Regions from separate parts of the Homo sapiens genome. Here region 1 is linked to region 2. The links are contacts of gene promoters, found by promoter capture Hi-C in human tissues and cell types (Jung and others, 2019). All regions are on one chromosome and are shown on one strand. Each heading gives the region's core, a stretch centred on a gene start or on the middle of the fragment in contact. The rest is flanking DNA. Distances are from core to core; before and after follow the strand shown. Region 1 overlaps EEFSEC (eukaryotic elongation factor, selenocysteine-tRNA specific). Region 2 holds the start of DNAJB8 (DnaJ heat shock protein family (Hsp40) member B8).

What was found. Contacts are between HindIII fragments. The study calls those that stand out against the background at their distance.
Region 1: a fragment that was not itself captured here is called in contact with the fragment with the promoter of DNAJB8 in region 2 in 2 of the 25 tissues and cell types used here (dorsolateral prefrontal cortex and stomach).

Annotation. Positions count from the first base shown.
Region 1 is chr3:128,178,234-128,185,364 of GRCh38, forward strand. All of the region lies in intron 1 of EEFSEC (eukaryotic elongation factor, selenocysteine-tRNA specific), which reads left to right. Among named protein-coding and RNA genes, the nearest start is that of EEFSEC, 28 kb to the left of the region's middle. The HindIII fragment of the contact is 3,766 bases long and covers 1,679-5,444 here.
Region 2 is chr3:128,464,590-128,470,952 of GRCh38, forward strand. It overlaps DNAJB8 (DnaJ heat shock protein family (Hsp40) member B8), which reads right to left and starts at 2,301. Exons shown (of 3, transcript NM_153330.6): 1 at 2,025-2,301; 2 at 687-847. DNAJB8-AS1 (DNAJB8 antisense RNA 1) reads left to right here. Exons shown (of 3, transcript NR_037890.1): 3 at 6,279-6,363. The HindIII fragment of the contact is 25,608 bases long and covers 1-6,363 here.

The DNA of each region.
Region 1 (7,131 bases), core at 2,312-4,811, 290 kb before region 2:
TGAAATATGAAAGTCATCTTATTTTCATGTAAAATGAAACATTTAAATACCTTTTTTCTCATGAAAATTTCTAGCATATAAAGTGAAACTGGAAGTAGTTTTGTTAAGTAACTTGTATTTTGGGGGCTGAGGAAAAGCACTAGAAAATTCAGCTCCTAAAGATCATTCTTCATGAGATGTCAATAGCCTCCAGACAAATTATCATGTGAATATTTTCTAAACCATAAACAAATTTTGCTACCATTGTGTTTAGACTCAAAGTTAGTTTAAAAGAGAAATTTCTAAATGAAACTTCCTAACGGTCATTCTTTCGGGGGCAGGCAGATTGGTAGAAGTAATATATAAAACCCAAGGACAAAATGGCACTTTGTTTTTTTTCTATTAAACTCTTTTGCTGTTTGCTGTTTCAAAAATTCATACTGAATCTTTACAATGAAACATTTGTGAGTCCAGGAGCCCAGAACCCTAAATGAATTCAGATTGACTTCTTTTTCTGTACGGTCTATCAAAACCTTTTCACTTTACCACAGACCAGAAATTATTTCTCACTGTTTTCTGTGCCTTACTCCTTTAATCTCCAAATACCTGTTACTACTATTGTAATTGTTATTTTATTGTAACAGTTATTGTTGTTACTGCTATTGAACAAGCTTTGGATGTTTGGTTTGAAAAGATTCAATCAAGTATTTTGATTATGATGACTAGTGCCTGTGTATAGCTAAGCAGTGAAGCAATGCAGAGATTTTATAAATATTTTTAGGGCATTTTTTTACTGTGATTGTAGGGAGTAAGATATTTGTTTTTACAGGCTGGAAAGATTGCTGTGAATTTTAACACTTGGGAGTCACAGCTTTAATTCTGATTTAGTCTACTAAAATAAATAAAAATTAGCCGTTGATACTCTTTTAAATGAATGGAACCTATTTCTGATTCTGATTTTTCTGAAGCAGTCTCTACATTTCCCAAAGTGCCACTTCCCAAGGTGGACAAAACATGTTCTGTGCAGGCGAAATGTGAGATGCTGGCTGCATAGGGGAGGAAGGGGGAGAGGAAGCTGTTTGCAAAACTACTTAAAATAAATTTGAAGGGTCAAACATGGAACACAGTTGCAAAAGAGAAAGGAAAAAATGCCTTAGGTCAGTTCAGCTAGAATCGTGTAGGCATTCGCATTGGCTAGAGGGTTAGTTGTGTATTTCTTGCTAATCAGATACAATTGGAGCAGATAATATTTGAGTATCTGAGGCTAGATCTCATTGCCTCTATATCAGGGAAATGAACCAAAAGGGGCAAGTTTTAAAAGTTTGATTTGGGGAAACAGATACCATTTAGGAGAGAGATGGTAGGCTGTGTTTACCTCGTTGTCCGAAGGCTGCTCAGACTTTAGTCAGCTCTCCAACTTGCAGCTTGTCCCTCAGAGATGCAGTAGTGGCTTGGGCCGGCAGACGGGCTTGCGTTAGCATTTCATTTAAAAGCGATCGGTACTTTTAAATTAAACATGCAAAGTTATCTTGGTGAGGTATTGAATGGGAGGTTGCTGGATTATTGAATTTGGCCCAAAATTTAGCCAGTTCAGCAGGGATTTTGGGGTCTGAAGCAATTAATATGCAAGTACATTTGAGTCAGCAAGGTAGGAGATTACTGTCTTATCAGAGTAAAAAAAAAAATTCTTTTTCCAAGATCCATACTTTTTTGGAGGTAGATAAAAACTCCATTGTTTGAGATTCATGTTTGTGAGTGACCACCTCAAATTGCCAGGTTTTAACCACTAAAACACAGAGGAGGGAATAATTGCATTTAAAATCTCTGATCTGTTATTTGCATTATGCTTAGCATAGAGGAGACCCCAATTTCCTTCCTCATGTTTTTGGTTTTTTTTTGCCATTTTGTTAACATAGATTGAGAGGAAACTTAATTTTCTTTCTTGAAAAAATCATTCACTGAACTGCTCAAAACACATGAAGTTGTTTTTGTCTCATCAGATCGAGTACTTAAGACAAAACTACGAAGGACTTCAATATATGGTTAACCTCTCATGTGCTCTGTGAATCTAGACACACTCCATCCGAGTTGCTGTATGATTTCCTGACCATAATGACCTGGCCAGGGGAACAGCTATTCCTTTGACAACACCGTTTTTCTTCTTCTACACAGCCAGAACCCTTACACCTGTTTTCCCACCTGGCAGGCAGCATTCAGAGGCATGAGGTGTATTTTTATTGTGTGGCACTCAGCCACACAAGTGGCTGTGCAGTCTTGGGGAGAAGAGGTTACTTAACACAATTTCCTTGACTTTAAAATGGGGAAAGTAAGAATGTAAGACCTTAAAGAGTTGTGAGGATGGTGTGGAACAACAGCTGGAGGGAGCCAAAGGCAGTGAATTACAGATGTGCAGTGCCATTGAGTTGCAGCTTCCTCTGCCCTTGACTCAGTGCAAGAGACTCCAGGCCCTGCATCGATGGGACCAGGCAGGCCTGTGAAAGGAGCAGAGCAGCAGGTCCAGAGCCAGCAGAACCTGCGAGCTAGTGTGCCATTGAGGCCTGGGAATTGCTGCTTTACTCCAGAAGACAGGGAACCTGGTGGTACAGCAGGAAGGCATAGTCTTTGAAAATCAGATGTGACTTAAAAATGAATTTAAAAAAAGGGGGCTAATGAAGTCCTGAAGGCCTTTATTTCTGTATTTATTGTGGAGATCTTTTTCTTCTGAAAGCTTTGATTTGACCATCTGCCTCATTTCAGGAGTTTGGAGACCTCGGAAATTTGAGAGATCACTCCTGGGTAGCAAGTTGCCCTTTTGCCAGGGCCTCCTTGTCCCTTAGAAGCATCTAGCCTTGGCTGCTTCAGGGGGCACTTCAGGACATGGATGGGGACTGACCATGTCCTTTGGCAGGTGACGCAGGGAGTCAGCCTGGGCGTGAGTGGGTGTGTGGCTGGCTCCCTGGCAAAGAGCTGCCACAGTTTCCTAAGGGGCCCCATCTTTTCCATCCAGTGGGACAGCCTTTCTATTTCAGATGAAGGATAAAATACTTGGTAGAATAACTTTCATTGTTCCCATTCCCAAATCCTTTTCTGTGTGTGGAGAGCATTCTGAGTTTGTCTGTTTGTTTACTGTCCTCCCATCAAGACCTACAGCCTATGCCGACATTCTTCTAAGCAGATCACATGTGCTTGGCCCACAAGTGGGCATTCTGAACACTTTTTTGTGTTTTCAGCCATGGTCCTCTTTTCTCAAGGGATACTGCCAGTCTCCATCCTGATCCAGATTTAGAAACACAACAAAAACAAAAGAGAAGCGGTGATATAAAATGGAAGTAGAACTTGGCGTTGGCTAGTGGAGACGGCGATAAGGAGTTTTGAAGTGTCTCTCCTTTGAAAGGTCTTTCTTGTTGGATCACTGCTCCCCCAGTATGTCTGATCCTTATGCACAGCCCACCTGGGCTGGTGGGGGGCGGTCCTCATCACACTGAGGCTGGGTTTCTTTAACTTCAGAAATGTCCTGAGGAATAAGAAATGAAACATGAGCAATACAGGGTTAATGTTGTCAAGCCATGTTTGTTTTTGTTTTTGTTTTTCTTTGTTTCTTTTTGTTTGTTTGTTTTTTGATACGAAGTCTCGCTCTATTGCTCAGGCTGGAGTGCAATGGCACGATCTCAGCTCACTGGAACCTCCGCCTCCCGGGTTCAAGCGATTCTCCCACCTCAGGCTCCTGAGTAGCTGGGATTACAGGCATGTGCCACCATGCCCGGCTAATTTTTGTATTTTTAGTAGAGACGGGGTTTCACCATGTTGGCCAGGCTGGTCTTGGCTCCTGCCCTCAAGTGATCCGCCTGCCTTGGGCTCCCAAAGTGCCGGGATTACAGGCATGAGCCACTGTGCCTGGCCTATTTTTGTTTTCTTTGATGGGGCAAGGTACCCAGATTAAGTTTATAGACGACAGCTAATGATAATCAAGTTCCATGTTTGAGTGCCTATTAAATTATCTTGTGTAATGCCCCCGCACATCTGGGAGAAGAGTTTTGTTTTGGTTTTAGTTTTTTAAATAAATGAAGAAAAGGTGACTCAGACAGGTTAAGTAACTATCCAAAAAAAAAAAAAAAATTCTGTAGTAAGAAGGTGGTCAATCCAGGATTTTAAAAAAGTATTACATTTTGGATTAGGTTATATATGTACATGATAGAAAACTTAAATAATGTTAAAGGATATGCAGAGAAAAGTATGCCTTCCTTCTGTCTCTGTGTTTCAGTCTCCTTACACTCCCCGCACTGCCAACACACATCATCAGTTTTCATTTGTGAGCGTGTTTTGGAGATGGGTCCATATTACTTTATAATAGTTTCCCCTCATTCTTTGTATTGACAACATACTGTTCCACTCTCAGGATGACTTGTGCTATCTCGAACAGTAGTGTCTGGAAGGCCTTGGTTATTCTGTCTTTTATGGTTGTGTGTACATGTCACAGGGTCAGTTCCTAGAGACAGTGCCTGCTGGAACCTGGGTGTCCTCACACCCAGACCTGTGCAGTAGGGGTTAGGGTTGCTGCTCTTGCCTAGAAGGAGCCAGAGGGCTCCCACCAGCCCTGCTGCTAGCAGAGACCTGGCGACCACTGTGGCTTTGGCACTTGGCCTGCTTCCCACCAGCCACAGAGATCGGGGCGGGGGGGTGGGGTGGTTGGTCTAGTAGTGGGGGTGGGCGGGTTGCCAGAGAGAAGGAGCGGGAAGAGGCCTTTCTTTTCAATTTACCCTCTTTTTGTATGCCATAATCTTGTTTTTCTTTGGAATCCCGCTGATCCAGGCCTGAATTCTAGTTTTACCATTTTACTAGCTGAATGATCTTTGTCAACTTATTTAACCTTTCTGAACTTAAGGCTTACCATGAGTATTAAGGCTTACCATGAGTAAAAATGGTGCTCAGAATACCTACCTGTTAGAGTTGCTTCGAGAACATAGAATAAATATTACTGCTAGTACTTTATTGAGCTTTGACTATGTCAGGTACTTCCTAAACCCTTTAACCTGTGGTAATCTGATTTAATCCTGATAAACCTCTAATGAGTTAGACACTGTTCCTATCCTCTTATATGTGACTTGAAATCTAAAAATGTTAGTAAACATTTGACCCCAACCTGTTGGGCTCCCAAGCCCATGATCTTGACCACTAGGCTATGCTGCCTCCCATAAATGCAGCCAGAGTTGATTGTGTATACTCTATGTCTGTCTAATCATTGAATTCTACTTCTGGTGACACTTAAGCTCTTTTCCTGCACTTTAATGTTAGAGATCATCATTCTTCCTAAGGAAGGCTTTTGGAGCGTTGCTTCTTACGGTGCTTATTGGAAATGTGACCTGGAACAAGATGCATCATTTCTTTGCACCTCAGTTTCCATCTTTGTAAAACATTGATAGCAATACTTACCTTCTCATGGTATTGTGAGAACCGATGCGTGCAGGGCACCCTACATACTAACTGCCTGGTGGATAGCGGGTCCTCAGTTGATGTGTTGTTGTCTTTTTCTTCCTCATTTGGGTCATTCATAGACTACTGGAGAGATATTCGAGAATTCTTCAAGTGTTTGTAGAATGGCTTGACATAAGTTGCTTTCCATTCCTTATCTGTGTAAGGAGTGATGTTCTGGAGTATTAAATTGGGTGAGTGTGGGCACAGTTTGTGTTCTGAGGTTTAGTGTGACTGTGAAAACATGCTTTTTGCATTGCCTGAGAGGATACAATAGACCACCAGCAGGAACAGCAGTGCAGACCACTGAGCAGCTTTTTGTAGCCCTGGACCCAGTGTTCAGTGTTCCAGAGAGATGGTAAGAATAAAGGGAGAGGCATCGAAGCCAAACAATTCCTAGATTTGATTGATCTGGCCTTCCAGATACCCTCAAATTCCACCAACAACTACTTTTAGTGTTTTTTCCTATTTTCTTCCAAGTTAAAAAAAATTGTGATAACATATTCATAATATAAGATTTACCTTTTTGACTATATTTAAGTATACAGTTCAGTGGCATTAAGTACATGCATATTGTAGTGCAACCATCACTGCTATCCATCTCCAGAACCTTTTCATCTTCTCAAACTGCAACTCTGTATCCATTACACACTTACTCCTTATTTCCCCCTCCCACCAGCTCCTGGCCACCGCCATTCTATTCTCTCTGTGACTTGGACTACTAAGTGGAATCATACAGTATTTGCCCTTCTGTGACTGGTTTATTTCACTCGGCATAATGTTCTCAGAGTTCATACATGTTGTAGCATGTGTCAGAATTTCCTTTTTTAAGGCTGAATAATATTCCTTTGTATATATATTTTCCCATGTTTTAAAAGTATAGGGTAAGTATGTAAGTATCTATCAGTATATTTATTTATAGCCATCTCTGTAGTTCTGTATTTTGCTTTGGCTTAACGTGTATTTTTCAAGTTATTACTTAAATTTTGTGAGTATTGTTAGTGATACCATACTGTTCTGATTCTGTTTAAAATGAAGGACATTTTTTTTCCTTATCTCTTATAGAATGAACTAGCTGTATTACACTGTTTGCATATTTCTAGAATTGACATTTCCAAGGGACAGTTTAGAAATTCTCAATTGTATCACAAACTCTGCAGTGATTGTATTTTGCACCTTACCCAGACATGGTAAGAAATACAGGTCTGGCATGGCATGATGGCTCATGGCTGTAATCCCAGCATTTTGGGAGGCTGAAGCTAGAGATTGTTTGAGCCCAGGAGTTTGAGGCTACAGTGTGCTATGATTGTGTCACTGCACTCCAGCTTGGGTAACGGAGCGAGATCCTGAAAGAAGGAAAAAAACAAATACAAGTCTGCCATACCTTATCCATAAATTTGAAAATTCAAATAGCTCTGTAAACTGAAAGCAGTTTTTTGGAGTTTGGATGCAAAACCCCATCTGAACTGACTGAATCTTTTATTTTTCCCATTTAGTGTGAATATTTAATGTTTGATTATAGGGAATGGCCCCATCGCTGCTGGGGTATTATATAATGTATGATATATTTATGTATGTACAGAATTATCTTTTGGGGGGATAATTATTTTAATTTATTCATCATTTTATAACTTAATATTATGAAGCACTTCATATATACCTTCTTTTTACTAAGCAATAAAA
Region 2 (6,363 bases), core at 1,051-3,550:
TATATAGAAACAGCAATTCACAATACTGATTAATATCTGTTCCTACCTTCACCTCACCCCACTCCAATTAAGATCAAAACCATGCTAAACCACCTACTAACCACACCAATAAAGAGCCTAGATGTTTGGGTCACCAAGTCTTAACTAAAGATAGCCTTCCTGCCTGCCTTCTTTCCTTCCTCCCTTCCTCCCTCCCTCCTTCCCTCCTTCTTTCCCTTCCCTTCCCTTCCGTTCCCTGCCTTCCTTCCCTCCTCCCTCCCTCCCTTCCCCCTCCTTCCTTCATTTCCTCCTTCCTTCCTTCCTTCCTTCCTCCCTTTCTCCTTCCTTCCTTCTTTCTTTCCTTCCTCCCTCCCCTTCCCCCTTCTCCCTTCCCTCCCTTCTTCACTCCTGGCTTCTTTCCTTCCTCCTTCCTTCCTTCATTCCTCCCTTCTTCCTCCTCTTCCTTTTTCTAGTCTTCATCCCTTTCTATTATCCTCCCTCTCTCTCTTTTCTTTCAGTGCTCATGGGTGCTAGGTTTCAGGCTCCTAGCAGGGGACAGTGTGTGTTCTAACCAATCCCAAATGCCAGGAGGAATGGAGACAGACTGTAGAGACACTTTGTAAACCCAGCCTCCAGTGACCATCGCTGTCCCTCCATGCAGCTTATCAAAAGCACGACTCGCACCCCCATGCTGGGCATCCACCCACCTACACCTGCTGACACATGTGGCTTAGCAGAGGAGTTGAAGAGCAGAACTTCTCCACTGGATGTAGCTACAGATGAACCTGATTCTTTATCTCTGTGGCTGGATTTTTGTCACTATGTCTCGGTTAGCAGTTAGCACCTGCTGTCCCTTGCAGGCTTGTTCCTGGGGCGGGAGAAAGATGCTTGCCCTGCACAGTTCTCCATGATGGCGGTGGCAGTGGGAGAGGCACTGCTGTTGACTGTGTTGCTGGTGGGGAGAGGCACGGTGGGTGTCCATGGAGATGGATAAGGTGTCATTATATAGTAGAGGTGACCATGGGAGCAGTGTTGATGTGGAGGTAATGGTCATGGTGGGTGTGAGGGGGAGAGTAATTATGGGTGATGGTGGAGTTGATCATGATGATGGTGATGCTGGTGGTGACAGCAGCAAGGCTTGTGCTTGAGAGTAATTGATGATGGTAGTGGTGGTGGTGATGGTCATGCCAGAGGAGATGGTAACAGCGAGCCTTTGTTGTGGTTGGCAGTGATGGTGCAGGTATGATGAGGAGGTGATGGGAATGGCTCCTAGTGAGCCATTGGTGTGGTTGGCAGTGGTGACAGTAATGGTGATGATGAAGGTGAAGGTGGTGGAGGTAGCAGAGGTTGTATCTTGTTCGGCTATACCACAGTGACAGCTTCCACCTCTCAGTGGCTCACGACAAACATCTAGTTCCCCCCACTTCACTCACTGGTGCCTACAGGCAGCTGCCAGGGCCCCACCTCCCATAGCTTCTCACTGTGGGTCCCAGGCTGGAGAATCAGCTCTGACCTGCACACCCCTCTCTCATGACAGTGCCACTCAGAGACAGCAGGAACTTGGGCTGCCTCTGAAAGCTTCTGTTGGGCCATGATGTGTGGCAGTCTTGCTGCATCCCATGGTCAAGGCCAGTATCCATGGGGCAAAGAATGTTTCCTTCAGGAAGGTTCTGCAAATCTCAGGGCAATAGGAAGAGAGGCCTGAGATTCCCATGGGGAAGAGGGAGTGAGCAGTTCTCCAACATATGCCAGATGCTCAAGATGGGACTGACAGCGGGGCTGGTAACGATGGCTCTGCTGGGAGCAGTGTTGGTGCTGCTGGTGCCGGGGACACCCGTGGTGGTGATGGGATAGGAGGCAGGAATTGTGCTATTAATGGAGGATGGTGGTGAGGGTGGTTGTGGAAGAGGCAATGGTAGAGGGGGGTGCCGAGGGGTGAGAAGGACACAGTGGTGGACATGCTGGTGTGAGTGCCGATGGCGATGGTGATGGCACTGAGGTGTGGGGCTCTGTATTTTCTGTTGCTAACTTGGCATTACACCAACCTCTTCCATGGTCTCCTTGCATCCTGGAGAAATCTGAGGGATTTTCCAGAATCCCATCACCGGTATAATTCCAGACTAGAGCCTGCCAATACAAGGGATTTGGAGAGTGGAAAAGAGAGGCCGTTGCAGGCAGGTGACAATGGTGAGCTTTGCAACAGCTCGGGGCAATCTTCTGCGAAGACCCTGCTTCTGAGCCACAGGCTGAGGCATGGATGGGGAGCTTCCTGGAATACCGTGAGCTCCTCAGCAGCTCCCAGGCAAGCTCTAGAGAGCCGCTCACCTGGGAGCTGCAGGTGAGCATCTCGATTCCTTGTTCCCTGACCGCTGGTCCCAGACTGTTCAGGGTGCAGCGTGTAGTAAATGTCCTCCTCCTTGGTACACATTTGAGGGCTGTGTACTGTGAGGGTGATGGCGGCTCAGATGAAGGTGGTGGTTGTGATGGAGTTGGGTGTGAGGATAGCAGAGAGAAAGCAGATGGTGACATCAGGAAGGCATTGGAGGGGCAGTGGTGGTGGCAGTGATGATGGTGGCAGTCTAATTAGAGGCAGTGGTGGGTCTGGCTGAGGCAGACCCGGTGGTGGTGATGGTGGTGGTAGTAGAGGGGGCAATGACGGTGGTGATGGCAAAGGCGGTGTGAGTGGTTGATACTGGTGGCAGAGCTGATAAGGTGATGTCACAGATGGGATGGTGGGTGGAGATGGAGGTGGAGGAAGTGTGGTGACAGTGATGTGGTGGTGACACAATGCTGACACGGGTGGAGAGCACCGTGGTGACGGTGACAGAGATGATAGTGATAGTGGGGCTGGTGGCAGTGGTAGAGGAGATGGGGATGGGACGCTGGGGTGTTGATGGTGATGGTGACACTGCTGAGGGTGTTGGTGGCCTGACATTGTAAAGGTGAAGCCTGAAGTTTCCATGACGATGGAATCAGGACAGTGGAGGAGGGGTGGTGAAAACAATGTTAAGAGACAAAGGACCTAGTATGATGAGGCATCCAAGAATCCTGTGGCCGCCTCCCCGTCCTGGCCCTCCCTGCCTTGTTGGAGACCCTGGCTCTGGTCTGCGTTGTACTCCCAGGGGAAATTTCTTCCAGCCACTGCCCTGCTCCAACCCTTGTTCCTGGGATGGGTCTGTGGGAGTCAGCCAGGATGGAGACAGGGCTGGAGACCCCCTCACTGCCGCCCATTCAGGGCTGTCTTAGGGCACACAGAACAGACCACTCGGTAGGACTTACGGGAACAGGTGTGTCACCTGGGAGCAGGTCCCACACCTCACCATCAAGGGCATCCTGAGATGGAGGCCCCTGTGGGGAGCTCCCCATGAAGGGAGCTGTGGACCGTGGAGCCGGGCAGTGTGCAGAGGAGTTTCCCTTCTGCAAAGGGTTCAGGCTAGTCTCCTTCCACGCCAGTTTTTGGGGAGCCAGTGGGGAGCATCAGGGGCTCTGAGGCCTCCATAGGGCCTGCTGGAGGGACAGGGACACACAGGCATGAGCGCACACTTAGGCCCCACACGCTCCACCGTCAATTCTGTCAGGCCACCTCCCCTCTTCAAGCCTCTCTGTCCTCATTCACCAGTGGGTGCTTTTGGGGATTTGCCCTCTCTGGGGAGCCAGCCTAGGCTTCCTGGCCTCAGATGTCCCATGTCCCTCATCTCAGGCCCACCCTAAAGCCAACCCCGAGCCATGGCCAGGGAGAGAAGGACCTTCAGCGACCAAGCGAGGCCCAGAGAGGGCAGGGCACACCGAAGGTCACACAGCAGTACCAGGAAGGTCTCCCCCGGGCGAGCTGATGGAGCCGATTAAGCAGCCAATTGGTATTCGGAGCAGCCAGAGGCCCCTCTCTGTCTCTGTAATTAATGGAGTGGCTTTTTAAAAGGATTCTAATCACCCCCGATCCTATCTGCTTATCACTAGAGTTCCTAATTAGATGATCCTGGCAGTCACTCAGCTAATTCCCTCCAGCCCCCTGCAGGCCTGCCTGGCCTGGGCAGCCCACCCCACCCCCGGCCACCCTGGCCCGGCCAGATGGGCAGTTTGGGGCCTTCTCTCCCCTCAGGGCCCCTGGTCCTCTAACTGCATTAGCTCCAGGATGGATGGGCGACAGCGATGGATGGATGGACGGGCGGCTGGATGGACAGAGTGGCAGGCGAATGAAGGGGCTGAACGGTGGGCAGTCACAGAGTGGATGGGCGGATGGACAGACAGACGGGCCAAGGGGCAGATCCCACAGTGGGGAAGAGCTCAGCCTGTCAGGTGACACAGCCTGGGTTCCAACCCCAGCACTGCCACTCCCCAGCCATGTGTCCTTGGGGAAGTCAATAACCTGGCTGTGCCCCAGTGTCCTCATCTCATCTGTAAAAGGGAAGTAATGATGGTCCCCTCTCACAGGGTTACTGTGAGGAGCTCAGAATGGAGAAGGAGCTGTGTGTGCGTGTGCTGGCATCCTGGCAGTGTCGATAATGGGTGGGCAGAGACAGATGAAAGGGCAGCCTGCCTGGTGAGCCAGTGGAAGCCATGGTAGGCAGACAGGCCCATGGCAGGCTTACATGCAGATTGGTGGCCCATGGGGTGGGAAGGCGGTGGGCTACGCAACCGTAGAAGGGCCAGTGAGCTCACGTCCTCCCCAGTGGTGCCAGGGCGATCTCAGCTCTGCTCTCAGACCTCTTCAGGCAGCCTTCCTGCCCAGTCCTCCAAGCCAGTGATGACAGGTGCCCACTGGGTTGCCCAGATCCCTTCCCTGCCATCCCAACCCAGGTACATCCTTCCTGGTGGTGGCTCATGTGGTCTCTGGAGGCTCAGATCTAGCCCCAAGTAGGGGTTTACTGCCTGAGTGAAGGCATCATTTGCGGGGCCCTCTGAGTTCCAAGTTGCTTCAGCCAGTTAGGGCAGCTCCCCTCCTCCAGGGTCCCAGCACCCAGCCCCCCTGGCATACAGCAACCCTAGGCAGGGCTGTTACCCTGAGTTCCTCAGTTACTCGAAGCCTCCAGGAGGATCCAACCCCCAGAGCCTCTCCATTCACCCACGGGGCTCTGCAGTTTCCGGGGTGTGGCATTTCCGGGGTCTTTCTGGAAACAGTATAGAACAAAAAAGCCTGAAGTATCTTCCAGAGTAAAGGCGTGCATGCGTATGCACACATCTGTACCAGCAGATAGCCACCCATCTCCCCATACACACACCCATCAATCCACCCACCTAGCCACACACATACCCAGCTACCCACACACCCAGCCACTCACATACCCAGCCACTCACCCACCCAGCCACCCACATGCCTAGCCACCCACCCACCCAGCCACCCACACACCCAGCCACCCACCCACCCAGCCAGCCACTCACCCACCCAGCCACCCACACAGCCAGCCACCCAGCCACTCATACACCCAGCCACCCAGCCACCCACCCACCCAGCCACCCAGCCACCCATACACCCAGCCACCCAGCCACCCAGCCACCCATACACCCAGCCACCCAGCCACCCACACACCCAGCCATTCACACACCCAGCCACCCCCCCACCCAGCCACATGCACACCCAGCCACCCAGCCACCCACACACCCAGCCATTTGCACACCCAGCCACCCACACACCCAGCCACCCAGCCACCCACACACCCAGCCACCCACACACGTTTCCTGAGCAGTTGTCCATACACGTGCCGTGTACCAGGCACTCCCCTGGGTCTGGGGTCCATATGTCAGTGAAGGCACCAGACAAAGCCTTGCCCTTATGATGCTGACATGCAGTTGGGGAGATAGGAGAAACTGATAATGCATGAACATTTAACATGATGGCAGGTGTCATAGATGCCGTGAGAGAAAACAAAGCAAGACGGGGGCTTACAGGAAGCTGGGGCTCTTAGGGAGGTCAGATTGGGTGCCCCACACTTCCACAGGTATGCTCAGGCACCCACGCCCCCATGCATGTGAGCACGCCTGTACACATGGTCACACATGTGCACACAGGCCCTCCATGAGGCCTGTAGCCCTGCTGTGTTTCCAAAAGCATGGGCCCTGCCGTCCCTCACCGGGAGGTCTGGCTGCCTCGTGCCTCTCTCAGCCTGGGCCCTCCCATCACCCAAGCCAGGCCTGCTCCCTGGAGTCCAGGGCACATCTGGGTCTTACTAGGTCTGCTAGCAAAGGGCCTGGGCGGCTCCTATGCGGCCAACAATTCAGATTCACAATTCTTCCCTGCACTGGTCTGAGTGGGGGCTGGAAACAGTTGAATTCAGCAGCATCACCCCTGTCCTCCCACGCAGGGAACTCCCAACCCCAGGCTCTGGGGAAGGAGCAGACACACACCAATGTGCGAATGCAGCTGCAACACTCGCTGGAAGGAGAGGT